6 separate regions of the Homo sapiens genome follow, and all the other regions are linked to region 6. The links are contacts of gene promoters, found by promoter capture Hi-C in blood cells and fetal thymus (Javierre and others, 2016). All regions are on one chromosome and are shown on one strand. Each heading gives the region's core, a stretch centred on a gene start or on the middle of the fragment in contact. The rest is flanking DNA. Distances are from core to core; before and after follow the strand shown.

Region 1 (2,700 bases), core at 159-2,658, 270 kb before region 6:
AAAATTCTTTTTGTAGAGACTGGGTTGCACCATGTTGCCCAGGCTTGTGTCTGACCCTTGGGCTCAAGCCACCCTCCTGCCTGTCCTCCCAAAGTGCTGGGATTACAGGCGTGAGCCACCTCATCTGGCCCCAATTTACATTTTATATGACATGTTTGAAAACCACTAATTTTTCTTATAATTTTTTTGTAGAGACAGGGTTCTCACTTTGTTGCCCAGTTCACTGATCTTGAACTCTTGGCCTCAAGTGATAGCAATCCTCCTATGTCAGTCTCCTAGAGTACTGGGGTTACAGGCATGAGCCACTGTCCCCCACTAGAAAGCACTAATTTTTTTTTTTTTTGACACGGACTTTCCCTCTGTCGCCCAGGCTGGAGTGCAGTGATGTGATCTCGGCTCACTGCAACCTCCGCTTCCCAGGTTCAAGCAATTCTTCTGCCTCAGCCTCCTGAGTAGCTGGGAGTACAGGAGTGCACCGCCATGCCTGGATAATTTTCTTTTTTTCTTTTTTCTTTTCTTTTTTTTTTTTTTTTGAGATGGAGTTTTGCTCTTGTTGCCCAGGCTGGAGTGGAATGGCACGATCTTGGCTCACTGCAACCTCCACCTCTCAGGTTCAAGTGATTCTCCTGCCTCAGCCTCCCGAGTAGCTGGGATTACAGGCATGAGCCACCACACCCAACTAATTTTGTATTTTCAGTAGAGAGGGGGTTTCTCTGTGTTGGTCAGGCTGGTCTCAAACTCCAACCTCAGGTGATCTGCCTGTCTCCCAAAGTGCTGGGATTACAGGCGTGAGCCACGATGCCCTGCTGTCACCACTAATCTTTAAAGCCAAGATATTGTGTGGGGGCTGGGGAGAGGAAGGGAAACTGTGGCATATCAAGGAAGCAGATCAACTTGCTCAATGGAACAGTCTAATCTCAGCAACTAGAATATTTAGTAAGCATTAATGTCATGGTATTGTGTGTGTGTGTGTGTGTGTGTGTTTGTGTGTGCGTGTGTGTGCATTGGAGGAGGCATCTGAAGAGGAATCAAATCACAAGAAAGGCCTTAAGTCTTCATAGAAGAAGCTTCTCCATTACAAATGGGAATGCTGAGGCCTGGTTATGAAATGACTTCATCAGAAACTGTCCTGACTCCTAGTCTAGCACTCTTTCCACATTGCTATTTATGTGACAGTAACATGTGTTATTGACAAGTGTAGCTTTTTGAAATTAACCCTTAAAAATCTGCTTAATACTAAATTTACTGCCTGAATTTTTTTTTTTTTTTTTTTTTTTCGAGATGGAGTCTTGCTCTGTCGCCCAGGCTGGAGTACAGTTGGCATTATCTTGGCTCACTGCAACCTCTGCCTCCTGGGTTCCAGCATTCTCCTGCCTCCCCGGGTATATGGGACTATAGGTACATGCCACCGTGCCCGGGTAATTTTGTATTTTTAGTAGAGATGGGGTTTCACCATGTTAGCCAGGCTGGTCTTGAACTCCTGACCTCAGGTGATCCGCCTGTCTTGGCCTCCCAAAATGCTGGGATTACAGGTGTGAGCCACCGTGTCCAGCCTCTAAATGTTTTTGTTTTTTGTATTTTATCTTCCTGCTTTGACCTTTTCTAAGTCATTAAGGAGAACGTTAAAAAGCATAAATGGGCTCTGGTCTCTTAGCCAAAAACTGAGTATAACCATCTTGCAAAAAACCGCCTGTCATTCCAAAATTCATTTAATAGTAAGTATTACCAGAACGATAATTTAGCAAGGGAGAAAGCTTTGAGTTTTGTTAATCTCTTGAAATGATAACTCCATCTCACAGTATCAGGGTGAGGTGCATCCTCTGGGCATATTCTATTCCAGATTGCCGGGAATGGAGCTCATCTCCTGCTCCTGTCCCCATACCCTCTCACCCTGGCCCCAACACCTCAGAGCAATTTGGCATTGATGGATTGGGGATTTTTACACTAAGTCTGGCCTCTGTCGATATCAGTGGATTTAAGGACCAATTCCAGCTTTTGCCTGATTGTCAACTTCCAATGAGTTATGCAAGTTGGGTTTGACCCTCAGAAGATGCCCAAAGTCTGCCTTCATTCCTTTGCAGAAACAAAGGACACTTCTTAGTTTTCAAGCCATAGAATGCCTCCCCCTGCCCCAAATGTTGAGGGTTTTTTTTATTTGTTTTGATGTTTGTTTGTTTTTTTGCTGGAACTGGAGTGCAGTGGTGCAATCTAGGCTCACTGCAACCTCTACCTCCTGGGTTCAAGCGATTCTCGTGCCTCAGCCTCCCCAGTAGCTGGGATTACAGGCGCCCGCCACCACGCCTAGCTAATTGTGATATTTTTTAGCAGAGACTAGGTTTCACCATGTTGGCCAGGCTGGTCTCAGGTAATCCGCCTACCTCGGCCTCCCAAAGTGTTGGGATTACAGGCGTGAGCCACTGTGCCTGCCTGCAAGTGTTGAGTTTTGATGGATTTTTCCCCACGTTATATAGATGGGGGTGGGGGACCGTGGGGGATTTTGGAGATGAAAGGGGAAGAGTGGCTTGAAAAATGCTCTCAGCTTCTTGGTATAGGTAAGACCATGAGCTACAGAGTAACAACTGGATTTAAGTCCTAGTGTTGCCCTATGTGACCTTGGACAAGTCACTTAACTGACTTGATTTCTGACCGTTAAGATGGGAGTGATAGAGGTGGCTACATCTTCCAGACCTATTTGTGGGG
Region 2 (2,704 bases), core at 121-2,620, 290 kb after region 6:
TGATTGGAAAGTAGAAGCTCTGGTGTATGCTACAGCACATAACACATTTTTACTAAAGGAAAAAAGCTAATTATGTCCATGCCTCTCGTAAAACTGGGGGGAACCTTAAAGAGAAAGAACTAAGGCTTAAGTTATCTGTAGTATAATCAATTAGAAGTAATGAATGGATGCATGTAAAATGGATGTGATTTTTTTTCAAGCTTATTTTGAAATCTTAAAAATCAGGTTACACCATAGCTACTCAAAAGTTTTACACACTTAAAACTCAGATCAGTAAGTGTTGGTACCTTTTAGACTCATAAAATTGAATAAACCATTGCAATGCTTTAAAAAAAATTAAGTCAGAGGGTTTTATTGCTATGATTTTATGGCAGACACATCCAAGCAAAACCATTTTCCAAATGCAGACCTTCCTGATGTTATCTGAAATCTGATAAAATGACCCTACTCTCTGCTGTGGTTCATTCTTGCTCCATGCTGTCCATATTTATGATCTTTATTAAGAACCTGTCAATCAGTCATCACCACCTTCATTGTAAACTTAGGTGTTCATGGTGGCTGGCCCTTCCAAACAACCACTCCCCCAAACTGAAGGGCCAGAGCTCATGAGAAACTTAAAAGTGAAACGGCAAAAGCAAGATGTGTTCCCATGACTACCAATACCTTTATTAGGCAGTTTTAGAAGTGTTTTTAAGGATATATTATGTCAGCTGCATTCTAGGAAGAGAAGCAGATTATATATATATATAATCTCCCCATAAACGGACTTAGCACAATTATCATCAGAGTAAGCATTAAAGTCATTTTATTGCCTTATGATATATTCCAGTATTCCTTGGTCTAAAAATTGTGTGGATACCATAGCAGTTAGTTAAATATACATTTATACCCACTGTTTGTTGTGGAAGAGATGATGGGGGAGGAGGACTGATGCAGGAAGCAACTTCAATAAATGAGCATATAACAGACTTGCTTCAGTGATTATGAATTAGTTTAGTTTCTATTAAAAAAAATTAACTTAAGGCTGGCCACGGTGGTTCATGCCTATAATCCCAGCACTTGGGGAGGCCAAGGCGGGTGGATCACCTGAGGTCAGGAGTTTGAGACCAGCCTGGCCAACACAGTAAAACCCCATCTCTACTGAAAATACAAAAATTAGCCGGGCGTGGTGCTGGGCACCTGTAATCTCAGCTACTCGGGAGGCTGAAGCAGGAGAAATGCTGGAACCCAGGAGGCGGAGGTGGCAGTGAGCCGAGATTGTGCCATTGCACTCCATCCAGCCCAGGAGACAACAGTGAGACTCCATCATCATCTCAAAACAAAACAAACAAACAAACAAAACAAACCACCAGAGCCTTCTATACATGATTGATTTCTTTTGAGCCAGGATACAACCTATCATCAGTCACAGCTATTGGACTTGATGCTCAATGATCCATGGCCTCATTTACAAAACAGGAGAACCTCTTGTAAGAAAATCAGGTTTGCAGGCTGGGCACGGTGGCTCACGCCTGTAATCCCAGCACTTTGGGAGGCAGAGGCGGGCGGATCGTGAGATCAGGAGATCAAGACCATCCTGGCTAACACAGTGAAACCCCGTCTCTACTAAAAATACAAAAAAAATTAGCCGGGCATAGTGGCGGGTGCCTGTAGTCCCAGCTACTCAGGAGACTGAGGCAGAAGAATGGCGTGAACCCGGGAGGCAGAGCTTGCAGTGAGCCGAGATTGCGCCACTGCACTCCAGCCTGGGTGACAGAGCCAGACTCCGTCTCAAAAAAAAAAAAAAAAAAGAAAATCAGGTTTGCTTCCTTTTAAAGTCTGGAATAGTTTAGTTAGTTAGTTAGTTAGTTAGTTAGTTAATGGAATAACAACATATCCTCAGTTGCATCAGCTTTCAGAAAATAAACTGAAAAGGAAAAAACTATGAGCCTAACCTCTTACTACATTTAGACTGGCTCAGAATACACACAGGGAAACTCCTTGATTCTATGACACGAAGTGACAGTAGCAGGAACTGGGATTTTAAATGAGACACACATTTGCAAAACAATCAGAAAACATTTATTATACTGAAATGTGTACATCCTACTATTAAAAAAACAAAGTAACAAATTTGCTGGTGCCAAAATTTATTTAGCCTGTTTCACTGGGACAAACTCACGTTCAATGCCACTCAGTATAATTTCAAGTCTGATAAGCATCTAAGTATTTTTACCCCGCTTCTAAAACCTGATGAGGAATTCAAAATAAGCACACAGCATTAAATGACATTTATTGTTCCATAAATCTTGAGACCCAAAAAGGAATGCTAAATAGACAAGCAAAACTTTTAAAACAAACGAGATAAACTCACTTCTTTCCCCAGTGACTGGTACAGAAAACATGTGGTCACACGAAAGCAAAGGGAAAAAGTCAGAAAGGAAAACTCTCTGCCTATAGGATCTATAGGAGTTACAGATATTTTCAAATCGATGATGAAAATAGATCGTGCTTCTTTGTAGCAAATAATTAACCCCCTTTATGAATAAAACATAAAATGTCAAAGCTTTTACTCACTGAAGTAGTTTGTCTTCTGGGAGAGATTTCAAACTCAAAATTACTCATTTCCTATTTTTTGCCTGAACACAATGAGGATCAAATAGTACATTCAAATCAGGACACCTGGGTATATGGACAAAGATATCCTACAATTAAAATGGAATAG
Region 3 (2,700 bases), core at 158-2,657, 370 kb after region 6:
TTTTAATTATGCACTAGCATCAACAAAGTTTGACTCCTTCCTGCATAGTTAAGGGCGTGATTAATTCCATATGTACCTAGGCCTTAGCAATTGTAAAGCAGGCAAATCAAACAGTTCTCGAAAGCCAAAGAAGCAGTTTATAACCTTAAAACATATAGCAAACCTAGTATCTGATCTGCAGAATTTAGATCACCTATTTACATTTTGATGACAGTTGCATTTTACCAGTAATCTTTAAGACTGTTTTTATTTCTCAAAGATTAAAGTCATGTGAAGTAAAAACCTTCACAGCTTTTACTTCTCCTTCAAAAAAAATTTTATTTAAGTGCTTATTTTTCTTTTCTTTTCTTTTCTTTTTTTTTTTGAGACAGAGTCTTGCTCTGTTGCCCAGGCTGGAGGGCAGTGGCATGATCTCGGCTCACTGCAAGCTCCGCCTCCCAGGTTCACACCATTCTCCTGCCTCAGCCTCCTGAGTAGCTGGGACTACAGGCGCCCGCCACCCCGCCTGGCTAATTTTTTGTATTTTTTTAGTAGAGATGGGGTTTCACCGTGTTAGCCAGGATGGTCTTAATCTCCTGACCTCGTGATCCGCCCGCCTCGGCCTCCCAAAGTGCTGGGATTACAGGCGTGAGCCACCGCGCCCAGCTTATTTTTCTTTTTTCTTTTTCTTTTCTTTTTTTTTTTTTTTTGAGATGGAGTCTCGCTGTGTTGCCCTGGCTGGAGTGCAGTGGTGTGATCTCGGCTCACTGCAAGCTCCACCTCCTGGGTTCATGCCATTCTCCTGCCTCAGCCTCCCAAGTAGCTGGGACTACAGGCACCTGCCACCACACCCAGCTAATTTTTTTGTATTTTTAGTAGAGATGGGGTTTCACCATGTTAGCCAGGATGGTCTTGATCTCCTGGCCTCATGAACCGCCCACCTCAGCCTCCCAAAGTCCTGGGATTACAGGCATGAGCCACCATGCCTGACCATAAGTGCTTATTTTTCTTTAGGCCAATTAACTAGTTCTTTTTTTTTTCCTTCTTCTTTTTTGAGACAGAGTCTTGCTCTTGTTGCCCAGGCTGGAGTGCAATAGCGTGATCTTGGCTAACTGCAACCTCCACCTCCTGGGTTCAAGTGATTCTCCAGCCTCAGCCTCCTGAGTAGCTAGGATTACAGGTGCCCACCACCACACCCAGCTACGTTTTGTATTTTTAGTAGAGATGGGGTTTCACCATGTTGGCCAGGCTGGTCTCAAACTCCTGATCTCAGGTGTTCCACTCACCTCAGCTTTCCAAAGTACTGGGATTACAGGCATGAGCCACTGGGCCCAGCCTAGGGCTCTTTTATGTAAACTTCACACACATATAACACATACATAACTACACAAACAGACAGTAAAAGATCCAGTAATTGTAAGATTTTTTATTTGCCATTCTCCTAATTGGATTATTGGCCTCAGGGTGGAGCCTTTTAAGAGATAGTCTAGGAAACCATGCAGTTTCTAAGGCTTAATAATCAGGTATAGCTGGAAGACAAAAAATAGATTTTGAGAGGGACCTATCAACTTCTAATTCCTGGAGTTCCATGAGGAAAACAGAGGTTTCACCCAAAATGGAATCAGTGGCGCCTTTTCTGTTTTTCCCAAGAAGTCCCAGGCCATCTGAAATTATAACTTAGGGCCTCTCATGCATGCATTAAGAGTGCCAAGACAAAATGGAGAAAAAGAATTCAATCGACTGAGAAGAAAAAAAAACTTTTTCTAGAAAAACAAGATCCAGAAAGAGAAAAACATAAAGCCCTTTTAAATGTACCTATAGCTTGGATATCCACTTTTAATTAAGCTAAGCACTTTTTAAGAAAATCCTTTTGAGGACTAAACTCTGATTTTTTTTATCTTGCCCAAATTCCTATCTAATGAGTCTGGGGAGTCATGCCCTACAAATAATAAATTCTCATCAGATGGGTTTTATTTGACTGTATATATTGTTACTTGCTTTCCAACCTGACTCTGGCATAACATTATGAGACAAGGAAGAAAATCAAAATATTTTACCCAAAACATGTTTCTTTGCTATATCGTGAAATGGCCCTGCAAAGCTGTGCTTTGTGGGGGAAATTTTGCATCTGTAAAGAATCTCTATTAACATAGCTAGATCTTTTATTCCAGGCCCTCCCAATCCTAAAGAAATTAACTAAAAGTCTAGCACCTTTTAAAGATCTAAATAGGAAATAATTTGTCATCTATTATCTCTAACCAGCAGCCACTATAAGACTTCAAAAGAACCTTTTGTTTGTTTGTTTGTTTTTCGAGAAGAGTTTCACTCTTGTTGCCCAAGCTGGAGTGCAATGGTGCGATGGTGCAATCTTGGCTCATTGAAACCTCCGCTTCCTGGGTTCAAGTGATTTGTCTCATGTGTCCGTGTGAAGAGACCACCAAACAGGCTTTGTGTGAGCAACATGGCTGTTTATTTCACCTGGGTGCAGGCGAGCTGAGTCTGAAAAAGGAGTCAGCAAAGGGTGGTGGGATTATCATTGGTTCTTATAGGTTTTGGGATAGGCGGTGGAGTTAAGAGCAATGTTTTGGGGGCAGGGGGTGGATCTCACAAAGTACATTCTCAAGGGTGGGGAGAATTATAAAGAAACTTCTTAAGGATGGGGGAGATTATAAAGAACCTTCTTAAGGGTGGGGGAGATTACAAAGTTCATTGATCAGTTAG
Region 4 (2,827 bases), core at 123-2,622, 400 kb before region 6:
TGCTTCTTTATGAGAGAAGACACATTTTTTAAAATGTTAGGTTTTATAAAATCTTTAATAATAAAAGAAACATGAAAGATATTTATATTCTTTGTTAAAGTTTTATGGTGACAATATGTGGATTGAGGATCCTGTTTCAATCTAAACTTATAACTTGCCTTCTGAGGTCCTAAAGTCCTGTGTCACATTTTTACACGTTTTAAAATAATTGGTCCTTACCTCTTTTGTGCACCTGACAGTTCTGCAAAACACATGTATTGGATAAACAGTATGTTCTTGCAGTGAAACTCATTGTTATTGGCTTTCCAAAGAAAAAACTGTTTAACATTGTCCTTTGAAACTGGCAAACTTTATTCACTTAACTCTTAGCTTTTCCTCCTCCCTGTCGTATGCTAAAGTGGAAATAAAATAACTACTTGACCTGCTAACTTTAATTATCACAAGTAACACTTTTTAATAAGCCCAAATACTGGAATGCCTTTTTTATACAGCAGATAAGTTCTTAGATGAGTTTTTTTAAGTACAAGTTATACAGTATTACGTTGTTATAAGTGGTGACTCTCAAAAGGGTGTTCAGTCTTCTGGGGGTTTCGTAGTGATCTAAAGAGCTGTTTCATAGTCAAGTCACATGAAATTGAATTTTACTGTTAATTTTTATGTTTAAATTACAGACATAAATATATTTTTAAAAATATAAGTACAAGAATTTTTAGTTCTGGTGAAAGGAAAGTGGGGAAGGGAGCTATATTTATTTAGCATCTCTAATTAAAAACAGGCCAAAGGACGACTGGACTGAAGATGTGACTGATTCTAAGACTTGTGCTCTTTTAATTATGTCATATTGCCTTCTTGGAAAAGGGAAGTTGGGAATCTTCACTGACTGCTGACATGTGCCAGGCTAGGACTTCCCAAAGTTAGTTCTGTTGACAACTGGTTCTTTTATTTTTAGTTTATTAAGATGGGGTCTTACTCTGCTGCCCAGGCTGGAGTGCTTTGGCACAATCTCAGCTCACTGCACACTCCACCTCCTGTGTTCAAGCAATCCTCCCACCTTCGCCTCGCTTGTAGCTGGGACTACAGATGCATGCCACCATGCCCAGCTAATTTTTGTATTTTTTGTAGAGACGGGGTTTCACCATGCTGCCCAGACTGGTCTTGAACTCCTGGGCTCAAGTGATCCACCCGCGTTGGCCTCCCAAAATGCTGGAACTACAGGTGTGAGCCACCACACCTGGCCAACAACTGGTTCTTTGAGATGCTCCTGTTGTCTAGGCAGTTATCAAAAAGTGCCCAGATCATAAGTGCACATACAGTTTGGTGAATAGTTTGCTGTGTATCCTTGTAGACTTTATACTTATTCAGAGGTACATATTTGTGTATATATTTTTATAAAACATGGGATTCAGTTGTACAAAGCAGTTTGCAATCTGTTTCTTTTATTTAACAACATGTTGTAAATATTTTTCCACATCAAGTTATATAGACTTAATAACTGTTAATGTGCCATTGTATTCCTATACCATGATTTAGTTATCAAATCTCTTGAAGAATATTTATTTCTAGACATTTAGTATTATCGTTTTAATTTACAATTATTTAATAAATAATGAGGCTGAATTTCATTTCACGTTATTAAGCCATTCATATTTACTCTTCTTTCAGCAAGTTTCTGGTGTTTGAGGAACACTGTGAAGGACTGTGGCAGGGTTCTTGAAGATAAGGGAGTTTGTTTATCTAGGCAACTCCTGGAAGCCATTATAGAGGGAGTCACACTTCCCAGTATCCTGGAAGGGGGCTTGTGATGGATGAGGTGCGAAAGTGGAGGCTACTATGACAGATGCAACTCTAGGGCACCATACTGGGGGAGCATTCCACTAGCTCTAGCCCCAACTTGAGTCCATGTTGGCAGATCTATAGAAGGAGAGGGAAGAATGGAAAGGAGCCAGTAAGCAAAAGAACCCCATAACCAGTGTGATTCTTGACAACTTTCTGGAAAGTTGGTTGTAGGCACTCTTGAGGGGTAAACTTGGGGACAAGGTGGTCTACTATTTCTCATGTGGGTATTTGTCTTCCATAGAAACCTTAATTGGATATGAGTGCTGCTTTAGGAACAAACATATCAGTTTCTTTTTTTTTTTTTTTTTTGAGATGAAGTCTTGCTCTGTCACCCAGGCTGGAGTGCAGTGGCATGATCTCGGCTCACTGCAACCTCTGCCTCCCAGGTTCAAGTGATTCTTCTGCTCCAGCCTCCCAAGTAGCTGAGACTGCAGGCATGCACCACCATGCCCGGCTAATTTTTGTGTTTTTAGTAGAGATGGGGTTTTACCATGTTGTCCAGGCTGGTCTTGAACTCCTGACCTCAGGTGATCCGCCTGCCTCGGCCTCCCAAAGTGCTGGGATTACAGGCGTGAGCCACTGCGCCCGGCCTCAGTTTCTTTATAGAAGCATGTTTGGAGTTACTGAATCTGAGTTGGAAGGGATGCTAAAAACTATTTAATACAGACTCTCATTTTAGTAAATAGGGAAGCTGAAACTTGCCCCAGTTCCACTTTGTAGCATCTGTTTAATTTCAGAAGTGACATTAAAGTTTTAGTCTTATTTCAATTCTAAAAATTGTCTGTACGTCACTGTGCAACCTGCCTCCCGTCTGTATGTTGAAAATGATAGAATCTGCACTATTGTGCTACATATCAGGGGTTTACTCTGCCAGGTACATGCCAATTGCTTCACATATATTCTTACTAAAGCCTTACAATAACTTGAAAAAGGGTTTTCTTATCCCCATTTTGCGGATAGGTTCAAGCTTTGGAGGTCTTTGAGTTTCAGT
Region 5 (2,700 bases), core at 120-2,619, 260 kb after region 6:
TGAAATATGATTCTACTGTACCAGGCTAGTTTCTCTGTTTGGTGTTTGTTTCTGTAGGGAGCTGATAATCAGATGTGGCTAGCTGTGGGATGGTCATATGTCACAGAACACAGCTATTAGGGGCAGGAGAGCCTTTGTGTTGGGCAAGGTAGATGTGTAGATATCCTAAAATATATTGAATATGTATGTTTAAGTACACATATTTTAGCCACCAGCATTTTTCTATGTACAAAGATCCACTGAGTCTTTTTTTTTTTTTTTTTTGAGACGGAGTCTCGCTGTCGCCCAGGTTGGAGTGCAGTGGCGCTATCTCGGCTCACTGCAGGCTCCGCCTCCCGGGTTCACGCCATTCTCCTGCCTCAGCCTTTTGAGTAGCTGGGACTACAGGTGCCCGCCACCTCGCCCGGCTAATTTTTTGTATTTTTAGTAGAGATGGGGTTTCACCGTGTTAGCCAGGATGGTCTCGATCTCCTGACCTCGTGATCCGCCCACCTCGGCCTCCCAAAGTGCTGGGATTACAGGCGTGAGCCACCGCGCCCAGCCAAGATCCACTGAATCTTTTAAAGTCAGTGTAGCCCTTATTATGCTTCTATCCTTTGCTTTTCACTAGAAAATGATTGTAGCCTATATTGTAGGATGGCATCTATGCAGTCAGTATCCCATGGTACTGCATGTGGGTGCATTATTGTAGGGTACAACACTTTCATGTTTTATGATTCTACTCTTCTTCCCTGAGTCCGTGGATTTTTATCTCACCACCGATTGTTGCCTTTGAAGAATTTTGAGGAACATTATAGGTGGCTGTTCGCCATCTTAACCACTCTCCCCCTTCCACACTCAGAGGCACAGACTCTCATATTTACTTTCCAGGACTCTGAAAACTGAGGCACTACTCTTGTTCCTGACTTCAACCCTGTCCACCCTTCTTCTCACAGAAAAGCTGCCCTTTGTTTTTAGCTGTCACTCTGCAGTGCTGAGGCGCACACGGCTGTTTGCTCACATACTATGAGCAGCAGCTCCTCTCCTTGACTGCCAGAATGTCGAGGCTTCACTCAGTCCCCTGCCATGCTGGCAGCTACTGCTTCCTCTAAGGCATTACTGATGCCAACCAAGATTTTGTTTGCTTCTGTCTGCTTTTCTTCCCCCCACCTCTTCCCGCCCCATCTTTCCTATGTTCTCTGGCTCCTTGGCTTTTGCTTAGGAAAAACTGATCACTTATAGACTTTGCCAACTAATGAGCTCCATCTTTCTGCCAGGCAAACAAATACTTCAAACCAAATGGGCTTTGTCATCAAGCTTTTTTTGACAGTGTTATTTGAGGCTCAGGCATCTGAGCCTGTTCAGTGCATCTACCACCAAAAGAGGGCTTATGCTAGAGAGTTGGTCTTCAAATAGAACCAGTTATGGTCTTTCCTGTGTCCATTACTTAGAACAAGGGAAATATAAGCTTAATGAGTTCTAAGGTAATTTGTATTGTGTGTCCAAAATAGCTTCTGAACATGCAAACACTTAATATTTCACTGTAGTGATGTAAAGTTATAGTGCACTTGTATATTTCAGATTGAGGAATCTTGAAAAAACTTATGTATCCAGGTGGCGGATTAGAGTTTATCTTTCAAGTTATAATTATCCTGAAATGTTAACACCATCTCGTTTTTGTGTTTTTTTCCTCTCTCTGTAGAATATTTTCCTTCTTGGATATAGTAACTTTGTGCCGATGTGCACAGATTTCCAAGGTAGAGTATTCACCAGATTTTTTAATCAATAAATATCAAGTTTTATTAGAATGAGTTTTAGTTCAAATTACTGAAAATTAAAATTTTATTATCTTTTATACTTAATATAACATAATGGTATAATTTTGCATTTGATGATTAACTTAATATACATCAAAAATAGGAGTTTGGAAATAAAGGTTAATCAAGACTTTCTTTAATAGTCTCAATAAATGTGTTTCTTTCATCCCAATCCCTCTTCCTTTACCTCCCACCTTCCAGGCTTGGAACATCTTAGCCCTGGATGGAAGCAACTGGCAAAGAATAGATCTTTTTAACTTTCAAACAGATGTAGAGGTAAGTTAGCTTTGGTTTAGACAAAAAACTTTTTAAAAATATGAGTAGCTGTTCCCCCTTTCCTGACTTTTTATTTTACTGCATTTAGATCTAATATTAAAGTGCTGAGGTAGAACAGAAAGAAGAAAAACTGGAAGGGATTTGCATACATCAAAACAAAACCCTGCTTGCATTTTAAATTGTATCAGTAACAGATTTTTTTCCCTTGTTTATGTTTATAGTCTGAATTTTACTACTCAGCTTTTTAAAGCCACACACCTGCATCATTATCACCTGGTTCAGTGCTTTAACCTTAGGAGACTTGACAAATACTTATTGATCTAGAAAATCCACCGAGAATTCTAATTCAGCATCAAAAGTGGAGAAATGGCAGAAGCAGAAGCCCAAGAGTGAGGCTGGAGATCTAAAGTGTCACCCTAGCTTGGCCACTTAAGTCATATAATCTCTCAGTATTCTGTTTTATTATCTATAAAATAAAGTAATAATTAAGTCTTATACAATTATTATATACAGAATATATAAGATTCTGATATATTTATCTGTAAATATGTAAATATCTCCATTTAAGTGTGGTAAACCTGATGAAATGAGGAAAGTTTATGTTAAAACAACTTTGATATTCAATACT
Region 6 (2,700 bases), core at 2-2,501:
GGGGAACCACAGACGGGGTGAAGAGGGAGCAGCAAATAATCTGTGCTGACTTTTTCCCAAAATGAAAACATTTTCAGCAGCTGTTTTCCAAATACTTAAGATGTTCAATCTTGGTTGTAGATAAATGTACCACTTTTCTCTGCCCTAGGCACGTTATTGAAAGCGTTATTAAAGGGTGTAACTTACAAGTCAACGGTGTCAAATGCTACCAGCTCTTACTTAAAGCATACTGCAGGCTCAGCCCACCTACACCCTGGAGGAACCAAAGTTGGTCCGCGGAACGTGCAGAGGAGCAGCTTGCAACTACCCACTCTCCTTTCCGCAGGTGTGATGCAAACCTCCCCAGGCAGCGCTTTGGAGCCCCTCAGCCAGTCGCCTCAGCTCGGACGCAGCGAGTGAAGCTGTCCTTCCTCTCCCACCAACTGTGCACGCCCCGCACCTCACCTATTCGCCTCGCCAGCCCTGCCCCGATCAACGATGGCATCCCCCGGCAGCCTGCCTATTCCCCCCCTCAACCTGGACCCCCAAACGCCGAAGGAAAACGGTCCCACAAATACAAAGAAAAACCCAAGCCAAAGGGCAGGCGACGGGGAGTGGTGAGAAAGGAACAAGATGCACGAAGAGGGAGAGCACCCAGAGGGGAAATAACCCAATGTTCCCACTGCAAGGGCCTCTCCTGACCCCATTTTTCTCCTTCCGGAGCGCTCCGCAGAGCACCAACTGGGAAAGCGAGGGCGCCCCAAACCAGAGCCGGAGGCACCCTCTAACCCGCGCAACTTGGAATCCCCTCCCGGAAAGCCAACTTAGGAAATGTTTACACGCACCTCGTCTCAACACCTCGTTACAGATGGGGAAGTGGATCCAAGCGCAAAGGGCGGCCGGAGCGGAACGCACAAGCGACCGAGCTGCCTGGAAGGACGCGCGCCCCGCCCGGCCCGCCCCCGACGGGAAGGCCGGTCCACTGCCTGCGTTCCGCCGGCCGCGAGCCTGCTGGGGGGCACTTCGGGGCTCAGGCTCCCCGCCCTGCGGGACCGCGGGTGGCTGCGACCCCAGCCCGGTTCCCCGCCAGCCTGTCCCCTAGCAATGCCTCCCCGTACCCGGGTCCCGCAGACTTACGCGCAAGCCGCGCGTAGGGCCCAGAAGCAGCAGAACCAGCAACAGAGGGAGGATGCGAACCAGGAACCCCGGCATGACCACCAGCCTCCCGGCTCTGCAGTCGGCGCCCAGGCCGGCCGCTTCGCGTCACTTGACTAAGGACCCACGGCCTGGCACCGCCCCTCGTCGGCCCAGCAGCCAGCCCTCGCGCCTGCTCAGCCCCGCGCCCCGCCCCGCTGTGGCCGAGCCGGGCGGGTGGGGGCGGCTAGGAGGCTGCGCGCCGCCGCGTGACTCCAGGATAGTACTATCTGGGTTTTGCAGGCGTCTTCCCTGGGAAGGGACCCTTTGGAACTGCAGTCCGGAGGGCCTGCTTTCAGCAGCTTGATAACGCGCCTCGGGGATTGGACATGAATCATGGTCTCCCTGTTCCCTGGCTGCCTTGAGAGAGCAGAAGAGGGAAATTGTTAATCATTAAACCTAAACGCCCTAGATGGAATCCGCGTCTCATATACGGGCTCTTTGAATAACTCTAAGCCGGGGGTTAGCAAAATGTGGTCGGTCCCTGGAGCCACTGTATCAACTCACCTGGAACTTGTTAGAATGAAAATCCTGCTCACGCCTGTAATCCCAGCACTTTGGGAGGCCGAGGCGGGCGGATCGCCTGAGGTCAGGAGTTCCAGACCAGCCTGACCAGTATGATGAAACCCCGTCTCTACTAAAAATACAAAAATTAGCCGGGCGTGGTGGCAGGCGCCTGTAATCCCAGCTACTGAGGAGGCTGAGACAGGAGAATCGCTTGAACCCGGGAGGTGGAGGTTGCAGTAAACCGAGATCGAGCCATTGCGCTCCAGCCTGGGCAATAAGAGCGAAATTCCGTATCAAAAAAAAATTTTCTTTTTTAAAATAACCTTAGTTTATGCCTTGGTGTTCCAAAAAGCCTTTTTACATTGTATAACAAAGTAGCCAAAATTCTATTTGTTCACTCCTTTCTCCTTTCCTACCGGACATGTCCTTGAGAGATTGAGAAAGTATCAGAAAGGACATTTCATTGAGAGATTGAGAAAGTATCAGTTACTGGCTTTTCTTAGGTTTTTGTTTTTTGGTTTGGGGGGTTGTTTTTTTGTTTTGTTTTTGTGTTTTTTGAGACAGGGTCTCACTCTGTCACCCAGGCTGGAGTGGGGCGCAATCACGGCTTACTGCAGCTTTGGCCTCCTGGGCTCAAGCAATTCTCCCGTCTCAGCCTACCAAGTGGCTGGGACTACAGGCGTGCGCCACCACACCCGGCTAATTTTTGTATTTTTTGTAGAGACAGGGTCTCACCACGTTTCCCAGGCAGGTCTTGAAGTTCTGGGATCAAGCAATCTACCTGCCTGGAACTCCCAAAATGCTGGAATTACAGACATGAGCCACCGTGCCTGGCTTCTTTTCATGCCTGTAGTACCAATTCCGTGTCCTTGCACTGTGAAGTCCTTTCCAAGCTCTGCAATTCTAGTTCAGTATTAAAGAACAAGGGCTCTGGAGGAAGTACACTTGAGTTGGAATTCCAGCTCTGCCACTTACTGTCTGTGTAACTGTGGGCAAATTACTTAACCTCTCTGAGCTTAG

What was found. Contacts are between HindIII fragments. The CHiCAGO score rates a contact against its expected background, and 5 or more counts as called.
Region 1: a contact is called between a fragment that was not itself captured here and the fragment with the promoter of GLB1 in region 6, in 1 of 17 cell types (M2 macrophages). The highest score is 5.0, in M2 macrophages.
Region 2: a contact is called between a fragment that was not itself captured here and the fragment with the promoter of GLB1 in region 6, in 5 of 17 cell types (endothelial precursors, megakaryocytes, neutrophils and 2 more). The highest score is 8.0, in endothelial precursors.
Region 3: a contact is called between a fragment that was not itself captured here and the fragment with the promoter of GLB1 in region 6, in 1 of 17 cell types (neutrophils). The highest score is 5.5, in neutrophils.
Region 4: a fragment that was not itself captured here is called in contact with the fragment with the promoter of GLB1 in region 6 in 1 of 17 cell types (erythroblasts); the score reaches 6.4 in erythroblasts.
Region 5: a contact is called between a fragment that was not itself captured here and the fragment with the promoter of GLB1 in region 6, in 1 of 17 cell types (endothelial precursors). The highest score is 5.8, in endothelial precursors.

The regions. Positions count from the first base shown.
Region 1 is chr3:32,828,669-32,831,368 of GRCh38, forward strand. The region is part of intron 1 of TRIM71 (tripartite motif containing 71); the gene reads left to right. Among named protein-coding and RNA genes, the nearest start is that of TRIM71, 12 kb to the left of the region's middle. The HindIII fragment of the contact is 687 bases long and covers 1,066-1,752 here.
Region 2 is chr3:33,386,298-33,389,001 of GRCh38, forward strand. It overlaps FBXL2 (F-box and leucine rich repeat protein 2), which reads left to right. Exons shown (of 15, transcript NM_012157.5): 15 at 1-1,795. It overlaps UBP1 (upstream binding protein 1), which reads right to left. Exons shown (of 16, transcript NM_014517.5): 16 at 2,039-2,704. Among named protein-coding and RNA genes, the nearest start is that of UBP1, 53 kb to the right of the region's middle. The HindIII fragment of the contact is 2,345 bases long and covers 199-2,543 here.
Region 3 is chr3:33,461,097-33,463,796 of GRCh38, forward strand. No RefSeq gene overlaps it. Among named protein-coding and RNA genes, the nearest start is that of UBP1, 22 kb to the left of the region's middle. RefSeq lists an enhancer at 1,937-2,490. The HindIII fragment of the contact is 7,405 bases long and covers 1-2,700 here.
Region 4 is chr3:32,697,849-32,700,675 of GRCh38, forward strand. The region is part of intron 1 of CNOT10 (CCR4-NOT transcription complex subunit 10); the gene reads left to right. Among named protein-coding and RNA genes, the nearest start is that of CNOT10, 14 kb to the left of the region's middle. The HindIII fragment of the contact is 2,857 bases long and covers 1-2,801 here.
Region 5 is chr3:33,357,286-33,359,985 of GRCh38, forward strand. FBXL2 (F-box and leucine rich repeat protein 2) reads left to right here. Exons shown (of 15, transcript NM_012157.5): 3 at 1,682-1,736; 4 at 1,998-2,072. Among named protein-coding and RNA genes, the nearest start is that of FBXL2, 81 kb to the left of the region's middle. The HindIII fragment of the contact is 151 bases long and covers 1,295-1,445 here.
Region 6 is chr3:33,095,895-33,098,594 of GRCh38, forward strand. GLB1 (galactosidase beta 1) reads right to left here and starts at 1,252. Exons shown (of 16, transcript NM_000404.4): 1 at 1,117-1,252. The coding sequence starts at 1,191. TMPPE (transmembrane protein with metallophosphoesterase domain) reads right to left here and starts at 1,252. Exons shown (of 2, transcript NM_001039770.3): 1 at 825-1,252. RefSeq lists a silencer at 840-1,449. The HindIII fragment of the contact is 8,101 bases long and covers 1-2,700 here.